3 separate regions of the Homo sapiens genome follow, and regions 2 and 3 are each linked to region 1. Evidence: promoter capture Hi-C in 16 types of primary human blood cells and fetal thymus (Javierre and others, 2016). All regions are on one chromosome and are shown on one strand. Each heading gives the region's core, a stretch centred on a gene start or on the middle of the fragment in contact. The rest is flanking DNA. Distances are from core to core; before and after follow the strand shown. Region 1 holds the start of MSX1 (msh homeobox 1). Region 2 overlaps STX18 (syntaxin 18). Region 3 overlaps STX18 (syntaxin 18).

Region 1 (4,856 bases), core at 1,452-3,951:
TCATGGCGGGCCTCCTCCCAGGGCCATCCAGAGGAAAGGTGGATGTTAATACAGTTGACGAACATGCAGAAAGAGGCCCTGCGCCCAGCCCAAGGGCACATTTAGTTTTACGCGTTGGCCAAACATTTATCAGTGCCCACGGAGTGCTTCAGTGTGGGGCTAGGCAGTTTTGTGGCATAGAATCCAAATCAAATTCTACACTTTCCCCGGAACACTTCGCTCCTACGGGATTCTAGGAGTAGTTCCCGCAGACCAGAGATGGAGCAGCGCAGACCATCATGGAGGGTGCACTGTGGCCAGCCCTCTTAGAAACAGAAAGTGTCATCTGGAGCGGAGAACGAGGGGCTGCTTTATTCTAATGGGCTTTTTCTTTAGATTGTCTCAGTCCTCTGTTGGATCGCGTTCACCCCTGGCGCCAGGGCCCTCTGGCCCCACTCAAACGTTTGTGTGTGTGTGTGTGTGTGTGTGTTGATGTTGTTGCGGGGGGAGTGTTGAGATCGCCTCTCCCCTCAACCTGTGGCATAGTCAGCAGACATCAACATGCCCAGCTGTCTTTTTCTTTTGGCTTCAAAATAAACCTCAAGGGTGGACAGTGAAGAAGCATCAGAGCGCAGGACTAGTGCAGGTCGGGGATGGGGTCTGCTGGGGACTGCCCCCGGATAAAATGTGGAACAAATTATCCCAACACAGCCGGGATCGCTTTGACTTCGGGGTCTTGGGGCCCAAGGCCCTAAGCGTTGGAAAGGACACTTTGCCTATGCAGCAGCTTTCCCGGCAGAAAGTGAATTCAAATCGAAGATGTTTCACCACGCGGGTTTTGCCTAAGTATGCATTTTTTCACACCTCTCTAAAAAACAACCACAAACAAACAGAAAAAACAAAACAAAACAAAGAAAACACAACGATCCTTTGGACTTTCAGACCACCAGGATGTGAGTCAAACGAAATCTCGTGTTAACACCCCGCTTCTTCCCTGCTGGAGGCCACCGGGAGTCCGGGAAGCGCTTGGCCCCCAACTAGCTTTCCGCCGGGCCGCCCGAGGGGCGGGCGCCGAGAGAAACGTCACTCCCTTCAGCGGCGACAACCCAGAGCGGGGCCACCTTCTCCGGCCATTAGGCTTAGGGAGGGACTGGCCTTTCAAAGACGTTTAATCCCCAGATAAAAATCATTCCTCAGCATCACGCCATTGAAATCTGGCTGCTATTATGCCGAGCAAAATAATCGGAGGAAACGAGGAAAACTTGGGAATTTCCCGTGCTCCTGAAATATCTCCGAGCGTGTTCTCTGAGTAGAGCAGCCAGGGGGCCGTGAGGCCTTGGAGCGAACCGCCTTGGGCACCTGGAGTCCACTTTAATGGCTCAGTCCTAGACGTTTGGGAGCTTCCCATAGGATTAGCGGGGGCGCCTTCCCCTAATTGACTTGGTGCCCCGCCCCCTCCACTGGAACCTGAATGTCCCCACCCCTGAATCATCCATCCGCCCAAAGCACCAACTATCTGCCTCAAACTCAAAGGGCATGGGGAGGTAGAATTCTGTAGGAGCTTCGGAACCTCTAGGCAAAGAGGTACTTGAAAGGGAAGAGGGGCTGGGGGACACCAGCTCCTACTGCGAGAAAGTGAAACTCCGGGTGCAGGGAAGATACCGCACCACACACATTCATCCGCTGGGGTGAAGCCGATGAAACAGAGTTTGGGATCAGATGAGGGATCATGGACCCCTGAGGTCGTTTGGTGGGGGCAGGAGGACAGGGTGCCCAGACATCGGTGTCCTATCCGTTAACTCCCACCCGCAGCGTCTCTGGGCCAAGGCGAGGAGGTCTGGAACCTTCTTCCTGGGTGGGAGTGGAGGGAGGCGCAAGACCCGGCCTTGCAGCCCACGGCTCCCTAGCACCGGCTGCAGGTACGCAGGCGCCGGAGGCCACCAGGAGCCCTCGGGTCCCACACCCCACCCGGCCCCCACCCGGCCCCCTCCCTCTGCGCCTGGGTTCTGGCTACTCACTGGCCGGCGGCGGGGAGAAGCGGGGGCTCTGCATCCACGGGGTCCTCTCGGGCTTCTCGGGGCTCTCGGCTTTGACGAGCGCATCTTCTGGCAGCTTGAGGAGTCCCCCCACCGAGAAATGGCCGAGCGGCCGCGGCGAAGAGGGCGCGTCCGGGGCTCCCAGCGACCCCGGCGGGACGCCCAGTGGCTGCGCCGAGCCACCCGCCGCCTGCACGCCCTCGGAGGGCGCCAGGGCGCTCTCCTTGGCCCCCGGCTTCCTGTGGTCGGCCATGAGCGCCTCCACGCTGAAGGGCAGGAGCGAAGGGGACACTTTGGGCTTGGCCCCCTCCTCGTCCGCGCCCATGGCGGCTGCCGTGGCCGCGGCGGCGCTGGGGGCCTGGCCCGCGCCTCCCCCCGCCGGCTTGCCGAAGGCGGAGTCCTCCACTTTGACACCGAGTGGCAAAGAAGTCATGTCAGCAGCCGGGGCCATGCAGAGCCGGGCCCCCCCTTCTGCCGCAGCACTGGCCAGCCGCCGGGCATGGGCTCCGGGCGGGCTGGGAGCGCGGCCGGCCTCTGCGAGCGCCCGGGGCCCTGGCCGGGCGGACCCTCCCGCGCGCGCCTCCCGCCCCTCCCCAGCAGGCCAGCTCCGGCGTGCTGGGCCTGGCCTCCGGTCGCTGCCGCCGCGCAGGCAGAGTTCCCGGGAGCACTCGCCGGCTCCGGGCCCTACCGCGGCTCCCCAGAGAACTTGCTAATAAGGCGAGGCCAGCGGGGCGGCGGCCAATCAGCGCGCGAGGGGGCGGGCCCGGAGCGATCCATTGGGCCGCGCTCCTGGGGACTCGCCCGGAGGCGCGCTGGGCCTGGGGGCACGCAGGGCAGGGCCCAGGCGGCGGAGGGCAGGGGAGGAGAGGGGGTGCCCGGGAAACTTTCCTCTGCGCTGAAGCCCAAGAGGCCCTCTCTGCGGGAGTCCCCTGGGTCTCTATCTTTCTGTGTTCCCGGGGGATTTTCCCTTGTTCTCGTTCCTTCTCTTCTGCCCTCCTCTCCTCCCCTCCCCTCCCCTCCTCAGCCCTCTTTTCCGCTCCTCTTTTTTTCCCCGTCCTTGTTTCTCTCCTCTACTGCTTCTTTTACCTTTCTCTTTAGTCTGTGGCTGGGTTTCCCTGTGCCCCCCTCCACTGTCTGACCCCCCCTCTTCTTCTACCACAATAATTTGAGTTGAGGTTATTTCTTACACATTCCTTTTATATATAGTTTTTAAAATACGCATGGCTATTTATCCTAGGAGAAAGACATACTATTAACTTCTTTTCAAGAAACGAAACAAAACCAAACCTTCATTTTCTTCCTGTTCTGAAATCTTGTAAACTTTACCTCGAGGTAAAAGTGGGCCTTTGTCTCTAACTTAGAGCTGGAGTAAACCTTGCGGGAAGAAGCTAGCTTCCTGTAGTGCCAAGGATGTGAGAATACGTAAGATTATCTAGAATCTGCAGTCGGTTTTCATACACGATGTGTATTCCCCCCCCCCCACCCTCGCTCTGAACTTCTGTCCCAAGGGTCACAACACCTATAGCGCCCGGGCGGGGAAAGGAGCTGCCAGATCCTTTTGATATAGAACTTACTGAAATAAAACCAACAGAATCGTCAATGAAACACCGATCTGGCCTTAAGGTGACCTCAAACAACGCGTCCTCGGAAACAATGACATGTCCCTATCTCTGGGCCGCTGATCCTGGAGGGGAGAGGCACATTTGGGGGAGGGGGCTGGGAAAAGAGGAAAGTTCCTGGAGGTGGACTCTAGTGTGGGACTTGAGAACTCTTCTTTTGCCAATTTCGGAGAAAACGTGATTTAATGTTTGCTGTTAATAATAATAATAATAATAAAGACAGAAAAAATGAGTTGGGGTCAGGGGAGATGCAAGATCTGCCTGAAGCGGGGTCGGGGCTTGGCCATTTTCTGCGCCTGTCGCTTTATGGCCTCTCCTCCTGCGGCCCAGGCCAGCGGCTCTCAGGGAGTGAGCGGAGGTGATTGGCGGCTCACTCGGCCCTGCCATTGATGACTGCGGGGTTCTAATCTCCAGGAAACACAAGGGGCTGCCGTGGCCATTTAGGGGTAATTATCCGAGCGCGGAGGGACAGCGAATTCCCTCGACTTTTAACTGGGCGCAATAAAAGCTGTAGATTAGGGGCGTCCAGATTAGGGAAAATGAATTAGAGCGGGAACTTTATTATCCGGAAGACGTCCGGGGTCTGGCGGCAGGGGTCGGGCTGCGGACGCCGGAGCGATTGGTAGCCTCCCATCTGTCCACAGGCCGCCGAGATATGCTGAGGCCTGGGGAAGTTCGGGAATACCGGCATCTGAATTTTACGCACATCTCCAGGTTTCTAAAGGACCCAAGACTGCAACTCAGGCACTGGGCAGTGGTTGGGGCTTCTAGCTCGAGTTGGGCCGGCTGGACGCGCGGTGCACCGGGGCCTCCGGAGGTTTGCCCGAGAGGGTACAAGGATAGAAGACCTTAAGACCCAATTTTGAAGCTCAGCTCGCTGAGGCTGAGCAAGGCTGTAGGGCAAATACCTTGCTGGTAGCCCAGCCAGGACAGCGAACAACAGCATCTTCCTCTTCTTCCTCTTCTTCTTCTTCTTCCTCTTCCTCTTTTTCTTCCTCTTTTCTCCTCCTCCTCATCCTCCTCTTCCTCCTCTCCTCCTCATCTCCTCCTCCTCCTCCTCCTTCTTCTTCCTCTTCCTCTTCTTTGAGACGGAGTTTTGCTCTTGTCGCCCAGGCTGGAGTGCAATGGCGCGATCTCAGTTCACTCCAACCTCCGCCTCCCAGGTTCAAGCGATTCCAGGACGGCGAACTTCTATTGCTCCCGTTCTAATCAAACTCTCGTC
Region 2 (4,856 bases), core at 1,400-3,899, 370 kb after region 1:
CCTCGCCTGGCCCTGGAGCCGGAGGGGGAGCCTGGACAGTGTCCACCGTGGGCCAGTAGAGCCAATCCAGGGCCTAGATTCGGAGCCATCATCCTCACAAACTGCTCTGGTTGAAACGCTGGCTTTGTGGGGTTTGTTTCGCGTAAAACATGAGGAAGCCCACCCTGACATTGTCTAGGCACTCTACTTAAGTCTTCTTTAGATGCAGGCTAGTTTGTCCTGGCCTTATGAAGGAGTTCTCCCCACCTCCTTGAAAGGGTGTGTAAGTCGCTGCTTCCCATGCATATCATGTAGTTATTTCAGGCATCTGTTCTTTTTTGCATCCTAAGTGCTTAAAGCTTACTGAATTTTAGTCTCCTGCATGACACCATAGTGTAACATGACTGGTGGTAATTTTTTCTCCAAACTCATGGTGAGACAGCTGTTTAGCATAGAAAGGATTAGAGAGAAGATGTCAACCTTTCTACCCACAGTTGGATTGGGCAGCACCATCCAAGGCTGAAGAATGACATGCAGAAGCTCCTGATTATAAAATAGCACAAATATGTTAGGCCTCAGCTTTTCCTCCTTAGCGCAAAGGCTTGGGTAAGCTCAGTGGGTGGTGTGGGAGAGTGGATGTTGCATTAGAAAGGGTAGAGACTGCAAAGACAGGGCCACAAGTGAGGAATCCAAGAGCGAGGCTGATGGGGTGAGCGAAAGGGGGTGAATTTAGGAGCCCTTAAAGATGTAGAAGCTGGAGGACTTGATGGCGGGTTGGCTGCAGTGGTTCAGCAGGAGACAGTGATCAGCTGTGAGGTTGTTCTCATAACCAAGACACAGGATCTCACTGGACTGTGTTTGGAGATGGGGGATTATCAAGTTGTGAGAGCCTCAGCGATTTTTGGGTGCCAGTTCATCCTGCTGCCTAGGCCTCTCTGTTACCTTACCACTGGCGTTGCTATTTAAGAAATCAGTGTTCATCTCGCTTATTGGCAGCTTTGGCAAGTCCCTCTGACACTCAGTTTCTTCATTTTTAAATGGAGGATCTTAGATTGTTTGCTTTACCTTTCTCTTGGAAATGTAAAGAATTTATAAAAAGAGAAATCTCATTTTTGAAAGTGTATATGGAAAGTTTAACGTGTCTTAATGAAGGTACATTACTTGAGGAAATATAGTTCAACTATAGGATTAAAAAATTGCGTTATCCGATAATCATAGATGCTCTTATTCACCTTCCCAGTATTTCAAACATGAATAATTTTTAGAGCCTGTAATGTGAATATGGACAGATAGTACCACTGCTCTGCTATTCTATTTTGCATTTTAACTTGTTCCATTTCTTTGCACTAGGATTAAAAACTTGTTTGAGTTTACTCAACAAAATTCATTTGCCTAAAAATGAATTTTATTAGATCATTTTCCTGTTTAAAAATTTGGTCTGGGGGAGGTGCTGGAGGTGGACTAATACAAGATTATCTTTGTTTTTGCGTTTAGTTGTACAATTTAAATATAAAAGAAAGCAAGCCAAGGCAGGAGGATCTCTAGAGGCCAGGAGTTTGAGACCAGCATGGGCAACATAGCAAGACCTCGTCTCTCAAAAAAAAAAAAAAAAAAAGAAAAGAAAAAAAATTAGCCAGACACGCGTGCCTGTAGTCCCAGTTACTTGGGAGGCTGAGGCAGATGGGTTGCTTGAGCCTAGAAGTTTGAGGCTGCATTGAGGTATGATCATGTCACAGCACAGCAGCATGGGTGATGGAGGAAGACCTTGTCTCAGAAAGAAAGAGAGAAAGAGAGAGAGAAGAAAGACAGGAAAGAAAGAAGAAAAGCTGCCATCTTGCGTCCCCATCATTTGTAAGAGAACATTTTAACATTGTTGGCTTACAGAAATCCTTCACTAGACATTTGAGGTCTTCCAATATTAGCCTAGAACTTATATATGCCAGGCACTTTTCTAGGCCCTTTGCATTTCATCCTCACACACACTCTGAGGCATGTACTATATCTTTCCTATTTTACAAGTGAGGAAACTGAGGCAAAGACAGGTTAAGTAAGTTTGGAATGCTGTATAATTCATGAATGTCAGCCTGCATTAGATCCAGGCAGTCTGATTCCAAAGTCCATGCTCAACCTCTTTCCTCTGGCTCCTACATCAGTGGTTCTCAACCCTGATTGTACATTAGAATCATCCAGGGGCCTTATGGAGCAGGGTGGGGAAGGGATAAATAATTTTTACAGGGCCCTACATGAGACCAATCAGATCTTCCCTCTTCTCCTGCTTTCAGGTTAAAAGTCACTCTCTCTCTGTTTTCTAGACCTTTGTAATCTCTTCTTTCCTTGATTTCTTGGCACACGTGGGGCTCCTAATGACCTTTTGCAATTAAGGACACACAGCTTTTTGGTTTAGCTCTGTAAGACAGGCACCATGGAGACAGGGAGATGCTTCCCACCTGTATGTAACCTGCGCAAAGCATTTTACAGGTAACCTGGAGCTTGATTGTTAATTCCTCAGCATGTGATTCAATATATTGTTATTTTTGCATCAGGGGAAGAACAAGGATAGTTAATAAGAGAGATCTAGGATTAAATAGCAACTCTAACATATCTGAGCCACACTGTTCTTACCTATAAAATGGGAGAAGTGATAATATTAGAGGACTTTTGTGAAGATTCAATGAAATATGGAATATGCTCTGTAATGTAGTCATCAGAAATGAATGCTAAATCCATTGCCTTGTAAGTGAAGCACAGCACCGAGACTTGGATATGAAAAATCACTTGAAAGTATGCTGTTCAGTCTTCAGTCAAATGCAAGAAGCCAGGGAATTTGGGGAGCTGGACTAGACCTTAGGGATCAGGGAATGCAGTCTCTTCATTTTATTAGCAAGGATTGAAGCCTGGAGAAGGAACTTGACCAAGGGTACACTGTGAGCCCAAATATATGTACTGTACAATATGTAGTGTACAAATAGTTAATAAATACTTTCTTGGTGCTGTGATCATTATCAGTTTTTACTTCGTAGCATTTGTCTTCTCTATCACTTCAGTGTGCTCATGTATATGTTATGTAACCCTCAAAACAATTTTGTAGGCCTAGCTTACCTGACCCCAGTGTAAGACTTTGAGATAAAATCCTAAAGGATACCACCATGGGATATGGGCTTATGGAGGTACTGAAAAATAACATATATTTACCTTGTTGACTTTTCTTGCATGAGAGGGAAAAGAGTTAAAGACATTCAAACCACATGTGATTGAAAGCCCACGAACCTCTTTCCAGTTCTGTTTTCCCATGAAAATGAGGCTGTTGTATCTTCATAATTTCTTGCATGTATAAGGTTAAAAACAGAGGGGAATGAAGATATTCCAGCTACATTTCTAGTAGAACACCTACATTTTGTTTTTCTAAGCATACTGTAAAAACTTCAAAACAGCATTATGCTTTGCGCTTATTTTAAAACCATTATTAACAATATTTTCTATTGATGCTTTAGTATAGATTTAGACTTCTAGTATCATTGATTATTATAATTTGAATTAAAAGTGAAAATTCATGATAGGTACTGTTTACTTGGAGGACCAATTGCTGTGGAAGTGTGCAGCCTACAATGAAGATAATAAGATGCGTCATTTGAATCAATATTTCTCCCACCTAAACAAAAACAATTTTTTTTAATCATAGAGGAATCATTTTTAGAACTACCAGGTGAATATGCTGTGGTGTCAATTAAATACAGTGGAAACTACCTATTCTTACTATTTACAATTCCTAATCACTTTCTGTCTCTTTCTGCAACTCATTACGTGTACCACGATGTCTTGATTCCCTGAAGTGCCTAGTAAATTTTCTCTTTGTAGGACTATGAAATTAACCATGGGCAGTGGAGGGGGCGGGGGGGTTGGGAATGCCTGTGCCTTTTCCAAAAATTGGGGTTGCTTAGAGAAAATGATAATGTTTAGCATTTTTAGTGGTGCCTAAATGTGTGTAGAGAAACACCTATTTCAGGCCTCTCCAAAGACTTTGATTGTCTGAAAGCAGAAATATTTGCAGTTTGACTTTACTTGGTGTTTACAGTACACTTTCTGAGCACTTTATGGATATTTAATATTGTATGACATGATCAGCAATATCTTTTTTTCCAAATAAGTGGGTTTTTAAAAATATAATGGAATCAGAATGTGAATAACTTTTAAAATTATTTATTATGCAGAGAAAAATCTGAAGCCATGAATTTTAAATCTCATGTAAGTTAAATTTGGAAGTACACAGATTTGCCCAGAATCTGAATTTTATAAGCCTTAAAAACTTTGACATTTTAAAAATATTTGAGGAGTTTGTTATTACCATCTCTTAAATGCACACATTTTTTTCAGACTACTAGGGAAGAGAGTGGCTAAGCAGAGCATTGTTGACTGCCCCAGACATCCTCGACTGGTTTCTAAATCTGAAATAAACTTCTTAGTCATATGGTGATAAGCAGAATTCAGAACATGTCTCTTTTTTAATGCATGTGAAATAGAAAGTGATAGTCATCACAAAATGAAATTTGATTTATGATGTGTTGATGCATCGTCATACTAAGGCACGCTGAAAAATATTTTCAGTTTCCTAATAAAAACAAAGTGACCTCCCCATGAGTGATTCTCCTAATTGTTATTGTCAAATGCTTTTCTTTATGCTTTTTTTCTTGCTCACACTCAGATAATCTACAAACACTGTTTGAATCCTGTGTTTCACTTTCTTTTCTTATGAAAAGTTTTCAGTGAATATAGTCCCTGAGCGAATCCTTTCCAACAAAGTACTTAACTTTCTATGCACACAATTCAAAAGTCAATTAAATGTGCGTGATTCATTTATCACAAAGAGTACCACCTATACT
Region 3 (4,856 bases), core at 1,550-4,049, 340 kb after region 1:
GTGAATATATCTCACTTATGTCAAAAGATGAAATCTGGAAACATTTCAGTCCTAAAAAAATACCTTACTTGTTATCTTTGAAGCCTTTTTTTATTTTTTCAATTTTTTTTTTGGAGATAGAGTCTCACTATGTTGCCCAGGCTGACCTCAAACTCTTGGGCTCAAGCGTCCTCCTGCCTCAGCCTTCTGAGTAGCTGGGATTATGCATGTACACCACCATGCCTGGCTTCAGAAGTCTTTTCAAATATTCATTACTTGGTACAGTTCAACCAGTACAAGCATATTTGCTTCTATACTTTCCCGTTGACTCAACTGCGATAAAATCAGCATCTTCCATGGTGCACATGAAGTCGTATATTGGGAGGATTGGTTTTCCTGTTTACATTTTGACGTTTTGTTGTTGTTCCAGCTTGTGTAAATAAAAATTTAGGAATTCGAACTCACCAGAGAGCTCCTCCACCCTGACTGCCATTTTTGCAGTTACATCTGTCATTCTCCCTTTTCCTGTCCTCTATCCAGTTAATTACCAAGCCCAAGAAGATAGACACTGTGTTCCACTCCCCTCACAGCACAGAGCACAGTTCAGTACATAGTATTTGGAAATCAATTAAGTGAATAAGCACCTGCACTTTCTCTCCGTCTCATCCATTCTGCTGCTACCATAGGAGTTCAGACTCCTACCATCTTGTGCCTGAGCTGACACAGTAACGGTGAGCCCTCAGTCCCTCTCCAAGCTAAGCCACTGCACGGAAGATGTTGCTTTCATCATTACTTTGGCTCAGAAGCGCTCAGTACCGCTCATTCTCCACGCAAAGATTCTCAGATATTTGGTCTTTATAAAGCTAGCCTACCCACCTCCAGTGTTAAACCCCACACTTCCCCCATCATCCCACCAGTTTTCACCATGCTGCTCTGTTAGCAGTCCCCTCAGCTTCTTGCCTCCTTCCTTGGCTCCTGCTATTTCTCTTGCCTGGACTGCTTGCTCTCCTTCACTTTCTCAAATTCCATTGATCTTGAAAGGCACATTCTAGCCTATACTAGTCTCCTCTTGAATTGAAAGCATTTGCTGCCTGTATTCTTACTATGGAAATATGTATGGCTTGTGACATCCCTTGCCTTATTATTTTGTGTTTTTATCTAGTAATAACATTGTCACTTAACCTTTCAGCTGCGATTGTGTTATCTCTCAAATGATATTGTTTATTTGTGGGCTTATATTGGGCACAGGGGATGGAAAAGGAGAGAGCAGGACTCTATTTTCATGCTTCTTTGTATTTAGCACAGTGGCTCTTGTACCCAGTAATACAGCCTTTAGACAGAACAGACACCATATCTTCTTGGTCTTTGTATTCCTAGTGCCTTGCAGAGCATCTGGCCCATAGTAGGGATTCATACATGGCATTTGAATAAATGAACAGAAGGCACACCTCAAATATTTGTTTAGTAGTTTTACCCCCAAACTAAATGAATCAACACAGGTAATTTTCCATCTTTTAAAAGCCATAAAAATCCAGTTTTCCATTTAGTTTTTTTCATCATTAACAGTTCTCCCTCAAGCACTTCTCCTTTGCCTGCCTTGAGCTTCATACTGAAATTTAAATCAATTTCCTCTCATTCTTTTCCCTGTGAAATTGGAGAACAGCTGTTTAGTCACCTCCTTATAAATAACCCTTCAACAAGTTAAATTGCCTCTAGGATTTGCTTTCTCCAGATTAAATTATCCCAAAGTCTTTTCTTTTTTCTCATAAAGGCCTTTTCAAAAAGAAACATTGGTTACTTTTAAAATTTCTTTTTCTAGCTCTTTATAAAACTTTATTCTTTTCATAAATGTACCACAGGATACCCCTATGTGGGCCTGACTGATGCTGTCTGGAATGGAAAGCTTTCCTTCCACATCTGGAATCTCATTCTTCTATTTTGTGTTGTACCTTGTTAGCTTCTTTTCTTTTCTTTTCTTTTCTTCGTATCCTATCAAATTTAATTTGCGGTCCACTCTCACCCTCTCCCTGTTTGTCTCCTTTTTCTGTACATTTCTTCAAATGTGTGGCTTGATTTTCTTCCCATAAACACTAACTTGCTTTATCAGAAGTCTTACTAAGGTTATAAGTTACAGAGAATCCAACACAAATTAGCTTAAGTGATCAAAGGAATTTATTGATTTATATCACTGAAAAGTCTAGTGGTATGACTTAACCTCTGGCATGGCTGGACTCGGTGAACCAAACAGTGTCACCACAGGCCTGGTTTTTCTTACTCCCTCTGTTCTGCCTTGCACACACAGTGTTGGCGCCTTTAAGGCGCCTCTAACGCCCTTGCTTTGTGGCAGCCACTGAGCTGCAGCACTTGCAGGCCTCACTTTCTCATAATGCCCCCTCTGGAGGAAGAGAGAGGCTCTTTGCTTGACTGGGTTTCACTTTCTCTTACTGGCTCAAATTGAGTGATATTCTTATCCTCAATCCACTCCTGTTGCCACTAAAAGGATATACTGCCTAGCTTGGTCCATTTAGGACCCAGCTCTGCATCTGATGCAGTATGTTACTTCCACCCAATACATTTGGCTGAGAATCAGGGACGAATTGTTTCCAAAGGAAATTTGGGGAGCTGTTCCCAGAAGGAGGGGAGCAATGCATGGGGGTGGCCAACAAGAGATGTACATTGCATTCAAAATTGTGCCCATTCACTCTGCTTTAGGCATTATAAATACCACTTTGAACTGAAGGTATCTCTGAGAATGAATTATTTATTCACTTACTCATAGTCACTTACTGTTAAGCACCAACTATATGCCAGGCATACAACTAGGTTAGGTATTAGGTGTACAAACGTGAGTGAGACAATGTCTGACTTTGAGAAACACATAATCTAGGGAAAAAAATAGACTTAGAGGCACATAACTAAAGCATGTTCTAATAAGTGCTGCTATCAAAGTGTCTGTGGACACAGGTGGAAGTGAAGAACTCAGTGGGAGGGGTTAAAGGGAGAGGGCATAACAGGAGAGGTGAGTTTTGAGTTAAGCCTTGAAGGGTAAAAAGAGATTCCCCTAGAATGGGAGAGGAATGGCATTATCTCGAAGGCCATGGTGCACTAGAAAAAGTTTTCAGTAGGGGACTAATGTGGTTAGGTATGTATTTGAGAAAGATCATTCTGCTGGCAGTTGGTGGATTCGGCAGAGGTGAGAAGGACTGGCAGCAAGGAGGAGGACCAGTTGAGCTGTTGCAGTAATCAAGTCTAGTCAAGATACAGCAAGGACCTGAACTCAGCTCGTTACTATAGAGCTAGGGAGTAGACTCGATATATTTGAGAAGAGCTGGGACTTGTTCAATGTAGGAGATGTGAATCAGTGGTTATAGATGACTTTGAGGTTTTCATTGTGATAGGTAGGTAGTTAAGATGAGTTCAGGTTTGTAGTTACTTGAGGTGCCTGCTGAACACCCAAGGGACACGTTTCCCAGGCAGTTGTAAATATAGAAATGTACTGGAGGAAAGATTTCTAAGCCAGGAATTTAGACTGGAAAAGACATCAGAATGTAAATGGAGATTGAAGCCTTGAGGAAAGAGTGGGATCACCCAAGGGGAATTTCAAGTCAGAAGAAAAGAGGGCCTCAGAGTAGTCCCTGGGAAAAGACTACATTTGAGAAGCCAGCAGAGAATAAGAAGTCTGAGGAGGCAGCTATGGAGAACGTAGGCCTGTGGATCCCTCCAAGTAATAAGCTTGTTTTTACTTGGATTAGAGGTAATGTCACCTGGAATGATTTGTGCCATGATGGTTAAGAGCATGGACTCTGGGCTCTACCACCTCCTGCAACTGATCTGTGGATAAAATATTTAACCTCATTTCCTCATCTATGTAATGGGAATAAAGTAGTACCTAATTTTGGAGAATTAATTTGAGTAAAGCACCTTGAAAGTGCTTAGCACATAAGAAGTGCTATAGAATGTTTGATAAACACATACGCCAGTAAACACATGTGTTTGTACATTTCTGTCTCTCTGCACTCACATAGCTGCTGGCCAGTTAATCTGAAATCCAAAATTAGTTTATTTGTACTTAAATAATTTGATTTTCTGGAAACTCTGCTAGTTCCAATGCAACAATGCAAGTATCTTGACTTCTTGAAGGTTTTCCAGATTATTTGCTGGATTATTTTTTTCTACTGATGATTAATTTTACCTCTGACTTTGTTATACTTTTCTTTGTTTCTTCCACACTTCACATATTTTTTATTGTTCCTAATACTTTATAGCATACAGCTTTTATTTATTTTTAAAATTTACTTTCTCAGAATTATTCCTAAAGTTCTGGAGTGCTCTGTGAGTTGCTCCTCCACATTTCGGTCAGTTTCTAGTGTGTTACTTTTAATCAGGCTAGTTTTCTCATGCATCTAAAGGAATTGGCAATATTCTCAACTCCTCCCCATTATGGTCAGGGATATGAACTTACTGTCTTCTTCTTTCATTTTCCCAAGTAAATGTCTTGAACCACTGATTAGATCTGTGTGCCCACAATAACATAAGCAGGCACGAAGCTTAAATCTGATTTAAAGGAGAGGGCTGTATAGTCTATTACTCCATTACGTTTTTTTAAGTGTCTAGATTAAAATAGATCAGTATTCAGGGTGTGAGTATATTGCTAAGTCTCTTAACACTCATTGAACCAGACGTCGTGTGTGTTCATTTTTAAATGATGGGGTGGATTACTTTTATATTTATTATGAACACAAACACTGATGCTAACAACTGACATGTGAAAGGAAAGCAGGCAATAGTGATGAAAACCATTTAATGATTAGTGAGGAAACAAATATTGTTTAATGAAAATAAAAACCATGTCTAAAGGGCCTAATGCTGACTTTTGG

What was found. The method cuts DNA at HindIII sites, captures the fragments that hold promoters and counts their contacts. A CHiCAGO score of 5 or more calls a contact.
Region 2: a fragment that was not itself captured here is called in contact with the fragment with the promoter of MSX1 in region 1 in 1 of 17 cell types (total B cells); the score reaches 7.1 in total B cells.
Region 3: a contact is called between a fragment that was not itself captured here and the fragment with the promoter of MSX1 in region 1, in 1 of 17 cell types (total B cells). The highest score is 5.6, in total B cells.

What each region holds. Positions count from the first base shown.
Region 1 is chr4:4,857,510-4,862,365 of GRCh38, reverse strand. It overlaps MSX1 (msh homeobox 1), which reads right to left and starts at 2,701. Exons shown (of 2, transcript NM_002448.3): 1 at 1,998-2,701. The coding sequence starts at 2,466. RefSeq lists an enhancer at 1-56 and silencers at 2,110-2,549, 2,560-2,799, 2,820-2,879. The HindIII fragment of the contact is 17,724 bases long and covers 1-4,856 here.
Region 2 is chr4:4,492,302-4,497,157 of GRCh38, reverse strand. All of the region lies in intron 1 of STX18 (syntaxin 18), which reads left to right. Among named protein-coding and RNA genes, the nearest start is that of STX18-IT1, 13 kb to the right of the region's middle. The HindIII fragment of the contact is 4,618 bases long and covers 341-4,856 here.
Region 3 is chr4:4,522,060-4,526,915 of GRCh38, reverse strand. All of the region lies in intron 1 of STX18 (syntaxin 18), which reads left to right. LOC107986254 (a long non-coding RNA gene) reads left to right here. Exons shown (of 2, transcript XR_001741564.2): 2 at 1-448. Among named protein-coding and RNA genes, the nearest start is that of STX18, 18 kb to the left of the region's middle. RefSeq lists an enhancer at 4,593-4,856. The HindIII fragment of the contact is 1,829 bases long and covers 1,885-3,713 here.